Regions from separate parts of the Homo sapiens genome. Here all the other regions are linked to region 2. Evidence: promoter capture Hi-C in human tissues and cell types (Jung and others, 2019). All regions are on one chromosome and are shown on one strand. The core of a region is centred on a gene start or on the middle of the fragment in contact, and the rest is flanking DNA. Distances in the headings are between cores, read along the strand shown.

Region 1 (2,700 bases), core at 8-2,507, 300 kb before region 2:
ATAAGGCAGGAGGATTGCTTGAGCCCAAGGAGGTCAAGGCCAACCTGGGCAACAGAACAAGACCTTGTCTCTTTTTAATAAAAAAAGAAAGAAAGAAAAGAAAGAAAAAAAAAAGAAAGTCGGCTATTACTTCATTTGTGCATTTTAGAATTTCTTTTGTAAATTCTAAAAGCCATTTTCCTAATTTTATAAAGCTTCTTTCTTAGTGGTAGATATCTTCAGCTATATATTGTTTATACAAAATCTCTTCAGTTTGAAGATGGGTTTTAACTAGAATCTGGAAAGCTAATGGGCTAGTCAGAACATAAGGTTCTGACTTATAACCATAAAATTGTGCAAGATTAAATATTCTTAGTGGTGTGGTCTGTACTGAGACCTTTTGATTTATAGTGGGTCACTATATAATGATGCGGTTCTGCTCTGTACTTTTTTAGCTAATTATGTTTCTTTTGTCTATAATTGAATAGCCCTTTTGGTCAAATGAGAAGTCTGGAAATTCTGCAATTACCTTTGGTCTGCTCTTCACCTGTCAGAAGTTTGAAGGCTATTTTGTTTTTTTTTTTCTATTACTATGACATAATATTCAACATTTTAGAATTTAGAATTTATTTAGGGCTCTTGAGCTGCTTGCTTGAGCCTGCTTTCACTCTATGGAGTGTACTTTCGTTTCAATAAATCTGTGCTTTTGTTGCTTCTTTCTTTCATTGCTTTGAAAAAAAAATTTATTTAGAAGTGAAGGCTAAATCTGATGGGTTTTGTCTAGATAACAGTGCAGAGAACTATTTGTAGCAAATGTGGTTGCTAACCACTTGCACTAGATTCATGTGGGAACTTAAGCATAGTAGATTTGTGGGTTTCATCTCTGTCCTACTCAGTCTCTCTTGAGATAGTCAGGACTGTGTGTTTTTTAACAGGCTCTTGGGTGATTCTGTTAAGTACTAACATATGAAAAGTACTGGTGCAGGGAATCCAGCCTGTGATTAGGCCTGATCCAGGCTGGTCCTTACACTGACTGTAGCAAAAGTGTCCATGGTTAGAACCCAAATCAGAGGAGTGTATGTTCAGGTGCTTCTCACAGGATGATCTTTTAAAGATTTTTTTCAGACCGGGCGTGGTGGCTCACACCTGTAATCCCAGCACTTTGGGAGGCTGAGGCAGGCAGATCACGAGGTCAAGAGATCAAGACCATCCTGGCCAACATGATGAAACCCCGTCTCTACTAAAAATACAAAAATTAGCTGGGTCTGGTGGCGTGTGCCTGTAGTCCCAGCTACTCGGGAGGCTGAGGCAGGAAAATCACTTGAACACAGGAGGCAGAGGTTGCAGTGAGCCGAGATCGCACCACAGCGCTCCAGCCTGGTGACAGAGCGAACAGCTTTAGTGAAATATAATTCAAATGCTATACAGTTAATACATTGGTTTTGGTATATTCACAGATATATGCACCCAACACCACAGTCAGTTTTTGAAAATTTTCATCACCTCAGAAAGAAACCCCTTTATCTATGACCACTCTATCCCACCCAACACCTCACCTCATCCTAAGCAAACACTAATCTCTGTCTCTATAACTTCCCTATTCTGGACTGGCCTATGAGTGGGATCATATGTTGTCTTTGTGATTGGCTTCTTTCAGTTAGCATAATGTTTTCAAGGCTTATCCATGTCATAGCCTGTGTTAGCACTTCATTCCTTTTTATGGCCAAATAATAATAGTGTTTTATCCTTTCATCCACCTAAATGATGACATTTAGGTTGTTTCTGTCTTTTGGCTATTATGAATGGTGCTGTACACATCTGTGTACAAGTTTCTGTATGGACATATGTTTTCATTTCTCTTGGGCATATACCTAGGAGTGGGATTGCTAGAGCATATGATAACTCTTTTTAACTGATGAACTGCCAGATTGTTTTCCACAGCAGCTGCACCATTTTACATTCCCACCAGCAGTGTATGAGGGCTCTGATTACTCCACATCCTCATCAACACTTGTTGTAACCTAACTTCAGATTCTAGCCATTCTTGTGAATATGAAGTATTATCTCATTGCAGTTTGGGTTTGCATTTCCCTAGTGGCTAATGATGTTGAACATCTTTTCATGTGCTCACTGGCCATTTGTGTATCTTCCTCACATGAGAAATATCTATTCAGATCTTTTGCCCATTTTTTATTTTTTTAATTAAAAAAATTTTTTAGAGACTGGGGTCTTGCTCTGTTTCCCAGGCTGGAGTGTAGTGAAACAATCACAGCTCACTGCAGCCTCACACTCCTGGGCTCAAGCCATCCTCCTGCCCCAGTCTTGGTGTCTGATCTCATACCTGGCTGGTTTTTTTTTTTTTTTTTTTTTTTTTTGGTAGAGATGGGGCCTCACTGTGTTGCCCAGGCTGGCCTTTGCTCATTTTTAAATTGGACTTTTTGTCTTTTTATTATTGAGTTGTAAGAGTTCTTTATGTATTCCAGATACAAGTCCCATGTCGGATATGTGATTTGCAAATATTTTATCCCATTCTCTGGGTTGTCTTTTTTCTTTCTTTATGGTGTACTCTGAAGCACAAAATTTTTAAATTTGGTGAAGTTCAGTGTACCTATTTTGTTGTTGTTGTTCATGCTTTTGGTGTCATAGCTAAGAATTCTTTGGCAAATCCTACATCATGAAGATTTACCCCTATGTTTTCTTCTGAGAGTTTTTTGGTTTTTT
Region 2 (2,700 bases), core at 174-2,673:
GGACTCTGGTGAGAGAGCAGCTCGGGGCGGCAGGTGGTGCTCCCCCCTACACACCAGCTAGGTATCGTTGCTTGCAAAAGCCCCACCAGCTGAGCGGCTGGCTGTCGAGGGAGGGGAGGCCTGCAAGATTTTTTTAAGGTGCAATTATAAATAAAGCCCATGGATCGCGATTTCAAACAAACTTGTCAATCTGGGCCGCAGCAAAAGGCGATGGAGGCAGCTTTGCATGTATTTCGGGTGGTGTGACTCATGAGCATTACTTGTCTCCCCTAGGGAAGGAGCCTGCCCACCCACAAATCACTGCCGCTCTGGCACCGTTGGGATAATCGACCAACTTGAGCACCCCTGCCAAAGGACTGCCCCCATCTTAACAAGCAGGAGTCTCTGACTCTTGGAGAACCCCTCCTCAATTGTCACCACTGACCTGGCCCCCAGGTCTGGCCCTGGGGACCTCTACCCTCTCCCCACAAGCAGAGTGCCCGGGCCTTTTGCTGCTGCAGGGATTGGGGGTTGGGTACACGCGCGGCACACGCGTATGGGGGCGCATGCTCAGTGCGGGGGCTGCGCTCATGTGCGGCCTCTACCTAGGCTCCCTGCCCCCCAGCCCACCCACGTCCCTCACCTGCCTTGCCTTTGCCTGCCTCGTCGTGTGAAGTCCAGGAAGAAAGGCCGTCACCTGAAACGGCCCCTCTATGTTATATGCACCCTTTCTGGACACACACACCTCTGGTGGCCCAGAAACACCGTGGGTGTGTGTAAGGCGGATGACAAGTGGATGTGAGTGCACACAGGCACAGTGGTCACTCCTCGGGAGGTCTTTAAAAACCGCCCAGATTCTCTCCTCTCTGGATGGAAGGATGCATGGAGAGATAGATATATTTTTAGTCCGGAGGCAGGGGAATACACTGCCTGACCTTTCTGGCACCTGGGCGTCCATATTGTTAGCAGTGGGCGTATTCAGCAAGAGTGTGACACATACACACACACCCCTGGACACACAGATGTGGACACCTACGGGACAGGGACGCACACCTCACCCCAACCAGAGATAGACGGGTACCCCAAGGCACAGCCCCTTTGACCTGGAGCGGGACTTGGGCCTCCAAGTCCTTCTTCCCTAATCCCCACCCTCGCCGTCCGTGGGCCCAGCGTCCCCCGGTCCACCCCACGCGGAAAGTGAAGGGGAGGGGGCTGTGAGGGTGACTCACATTGCCTCCGGGCCAGGCGAGCGCTGCAGCGGAGGCCAGGGCCGCAGGCCACGCTGCCCGCCGGGGCCGGGCATCTGCCGCGGCCCCTTTAAGCGCCCCCGCCCCCTCCTGCCCGCGCCCGGGCTTCCTTTCTCTAGGGGGCGCGGCCGGCAGCGCGCGGCGGGGCGGGGGTGCGGCCCCTCCCCCTGTGGGCAGGGCCTGCGCCGCTTCCTGCAGAAGCGGCCGGGAGCCGCGCAGGGGGCGGAGAGAGGAGCCGCGAGCGGCGGCGGGGCGGCGCGGGGCGGAGGGCGCCCGAGGGCGAGCGGGCAGGCGGGCACGGCGGGTTCCGGGCCAGCCCCGGGGCGGACGGTTGGCCGGGCGCGCGGAGCCTCGCCGGGGCCTCGCCGGAGCCGGGCCGGGCAGCAGGGGCCGCCGCCGCCGCCCGGGCCCGCCGCCCGCGCCCCCCACGCTGGCCCAGAGGGCTGCGGCCGCGTCGCCGCTGAGGATGTCCCGAAAGGGGCCGCGAGCGGAGGTGTGTGCGGACTGCAGCGCCCCGGGTAAGCGCGGCGGGGCCGGGGGCGGGACCGCACAGCCAGGCCGCCGCCGGGCGGGCGCCGGGGCCTGGCAAGAGCGCTGTGCGGGGCCGGAGGGCTGGGCGGGGCGGGGGGCTGCGGCCTCCAGGCTGGGCCCCCGCCTCGGCCACTGCGGAGCTGCGCCCTTGGCGGGAGGGCCGGCCTGGGGTGCCCATGCTCCCTGGAGGCCGTGGACTAGCGAGGAAGGACGTTCCCGGCGCCGCCTCCCGCTCCTCGGTCTGAGGGAGGCGGGCAGCTGGCTGCTCCTCCACCTCCATCTCTGTATCCGACGGAAGCGCCAGCCTGGGGTGGCAGGAGGGCCGTGGCGGAGGCCGTCAGGGCTTGGGAGGTGGGGGCGAGTGTGGTTTTATGTCATCTCAGTGCCACCCCCGCGTCTTGCACCTGCTGCTCGCGTGGTCGGTACGCCTGCCGGGGTGGTGGAGGGCAAGGAGCAGAGGGCCGGGCAGATGCGCCAGTGGGGCCTGAATACCGTCTCCTCAGGAGCAGATGAGCGGTGGCTACTCCCAGGACTCCCTGCCTCGGGTTCCTAAGGCTAGCGCTCCTTGCCGGGCCTGGCGTTCAGGGCCAGTCTAGACCCGGGTGTCTTCTCGGGAGGCATCCCCAGGCCTGCTGGTGGTGACTGGGAACAGCTCGGCTGGACCCTGCTGTTCCTGTTCACCGGTAAGGCCTGCTTGGGAAAGTGAGCTTGGCATCAAGCTATCCTGGGTGCGGGCCCCTCCCTGTCCCCTAGCCCAGTCTGGCCAGAAATGGGTGGGAGGCCGTGCCGAGATTCCCCGTATCCTGCTGGCTTCCTGGCCTGTCTCCTGGCTGTATTTACATGGTGGTTCCCTTCCTTTTCCTAACAGAGTTAGGACTGGGCTGGAGTGAAACCCCCCAGGCCTGCTGAGGAAGTCAGGGGTAATGATCCAAGAGGCTGCTCC
Region 3 (2,700 bases), core at 17-2,516, 320 kb before region 2:
CTCAACTGTGACTTGTAAGGTCTGCTTTGTATATAAGATATAAGATATACACTTGTAAGATAGCTTTGGATACAGGAATCCTAAACCCTTCACTAGGACTGTGCAGTGGTGGTACAAGCTTACTTTGCTACTGAGACTACCAAATGACAACCTTATTTTCTTGCTTGGGGGATTTTAGATGCTGTGGTTTTATATTGCCTTGCCACTTCTATGTAAGAAATATAGGAAGCTGGCCGGGAGCGGTGGCTCATGCCTGTAATTCCAGCACTTTGGGAGGCTGAGGCGGGCGGATCACCTGAGGTCGGGAGTTCAAGACCAGCCTGACCAACGTGGAGAAATCCCGTCTCTACTAAAAATACAAAATTAGGCCGGCGTGGTGGTGCTTGCCTGTAATCCCAGCTACTCAGGAGGCTGAGGCAGGAGAATCACTTGAACCCAGGAGGCAGAGGTTGCGGTGAGCCGAGATTGCGCCATTGTACTCCAGCCTGGGCAATAGGAATGAAACTCCGTCTCAAAAAAAAAAGAAAAAAGAAAGAAATATAGGAAGCTTCTTGGACTCTTTATTATTGGAATCTTGGGATTTATTCATAAATATTGCTTCCTAGGGGTTCACAGAATTTCATAACTGGAAAATTGACTACTTTAATTGCCCATTTTACTGTTAAATAATTGCCAGAGTTTGGCTCCAAGAATAAAGGTCAGAACAGCTTACCTCTTGGGCAGTTTCAGGAGAGCTTTTGCTAGTGTAAAAGCCCTTTACTACATCTTTAGTAGAAATTGGATATATATATATATATATATATATATATATATATATTTTTTTTTTTTTTTTTTTTTTTTTTTTTTTGAGATGGCGTCTCGCTCTGTCGCCCAGGCTGGAGTGCAGTGCCGTGATCTTGGCTCACTGCAACCTCCACCTCCCAGGTTCAAGCGATTGTCGTGCCTCAGCCTCCCAAGTGGCTGGGATTACAGATGTGTGCCACCACACCCGGCTAATTTTTGTATTTTTAGTAGAGATGGATTTTCATCATGTTGGCCAGGCTGGTCTCAAACTCCCGACCTTAGGTGATCCGTCTGCCTCAGCCTCCCAAAGTGCTGGGATTACAGGCCTGAGCCACTGTGCCTGGCTGGAGATTTTTTTTTAATGCTAGGTGTTCAGGTGGCCACTTGGGTTCTAGACCAGACTTAGATTGAGATATAGGAAGTTGTACATTTAAGTGTGGCTATAAGATTTGGCAGATGACATACATTAGTGAAGCTGGCCAAATAGGATCTGTGGTAAGTAGGAGACTATGAGCTCTGTCTTCAGAGGCTGCCAGTGTGACTCTGTGTAGACCCAGTATTGCCAGAAAAGTCTTATATCTCGAGAAACATTAGTAATTAGCAGATTATATGAAATCTTTTGATATTTTTTGGTGGGAGGGGTGGACTTTAGAGACAGGATCTCACTCTGTCTCCCAGGCTGGGGTGTAGTGGCAAGATCGTAGCTCACTACAGCCTTCAACTCCTGGGCTCAAGCAATCTGCCCACCTTAGCCTCCTGAGTAGTAGTTAGGACTATAGTTGCATACCATCATACCCAGCTATTTTTTCTTAGTTTTTGTAGAGATGAGGTCTCACTATATTGTCCAGGGTGGTCTCAAACTCCTGGCTTCAAGCCATTCTCCCACCTCAGGCTCTCGAAGTGCTGAAATTACAGGTGTGAGCCACTCTGCCTGTCTGAAATCCTCTGATTTTTAAATGTTGGCAACTGAATTGGCTGGAAATTATTTTGATTGTAAGTAACAGAAGACCAAATTTAAACAGTAGGAATATGGTTTATCTAACAATAAATTTGAAGATACATATAGTCTAGGACTAACTTAGCTCAGCAATACCATAAAGATCTAAGTTGTTTATATCTTCCTGTTTTGCCATTAATAGTGTATTTGATTCCCATCTTTCTGCTTTTTTCCACATAAAAGATGGCTATTGTAGCTCTGGCAGTACATCCATATTTGTTGCAGAAAGGGGTAAAAGGTACAGTGCCAGCAGTGGCTGTACCATTCATTAGGAAGCAAAAATTTTCCCAGAAACCAACTGCTCATTCCCAGTAGCTTTCTCTTTAAGTCTCCTACCAGAACTAGGTTACATGGCCTACTCTAGTTGCAATAGAGCCTGGGAAAGTAAGTATATGGCTTTCCATTTTAATCATTGAGTGACAGCAAGGGATAAGAATGTTTGGAATAGCTATTGTCACACTTTGTATAACAACTAATACAGATTTAAAGAACTATATCTTGAAGGCTAAACAGAACATATCTGAGGCCCAGATTTAACTAGTGAGTCACCAATGTGTAGACACTATAAACAATATATTTTCCTTCCATTTCATTACTCTACTACTGATTCTTAGCTTCTATCAGTCATTTTATTATATGGCCAAGGAAGTTGAAATTAGAAAGCTTGAGTTTAAGTCCTGGTATAGAGACTTGTTAGCAGTGTTTTTTGGGGGTAAGTTTGCTTGATCTTTCTGAGCCTCCCATTTCTTATCTGGAAAATTGATATATAACATTGCAATATAGCATAGTAATTAAGTGCAGAGGTTTTGGAATCAGAACAACCTAAGTTGGAATCCTGTCTCTGCCAAGCAAGTTGCATAACCTCTCTTGGTGTTTCCGTCTCTGTAGAATGGGGCTTATAGTTGTATACTACCTCACGT

What was found. The method cuts DNA at HindIII sites, captures the fragments that hold promoters and counts their contacts. A contact is called where the count stands out against the background at its distance.
Region 1: a contact is called between a fragment that was not itself captured here and the fragment with the promoter of GIT1 in region 2, in 1 of the 25 tissues and cell types used here (lymphoblastoid cells).
Region 3: a fragment that was not itself captured here is called in contact with the fragment with the promoter of GIT1 in region 2 in 2 of the 25 tissues and cell types used here (dorsolateral prefrontal cortex and lymphoblastoid cells).

Annotation. Positions count from the first base shown.
Region 1 is chr17:29,889,457-29,892,156 of GRCh38, reverse strand. All of the region lies in intron 1 of SSH2 (slingshot protein phosphatase 2), which reads left to right. Among named protein-coding and RNA genes, the nearest start is that of SSH2, 39 kb to the left of the region's middle. The HindIII fragment of the contact is 4,297 bases long and covers 1-2,700 here.
Region 2 is chr17:29,588,371-29,591,070 of GRCh38, reverse strand. It overlaps GIT1 (GIT ArfGAP 1), which reads left to right and starts at 1,423. Exons shown (of 20, transcript NM_014030.4): 1 at 1,423-1,744. The coding sequence starts at 1,693. RefSeq lists enhancers at 443-1,342, 2,242-2,700 and silencers at 1,095-1,574, 1,835-2,024. The HindIII fragment of the contact is 8,209 bases long and covers 1-2,700 here.
Region 3 is chr17:29,911,465-29,914,164 of GRCh38, reverse strand. All of the region lies in intron 1 of SSH2 (slingshot protein phosphatase 2), which reads left to right. Among named protein-coding and RNA genes, the nearest start is that of SSH2, 17 kb to the left of the region's middle. The HindIII fragment of the contact is 3,452 bases long and covers 1-2,700 here.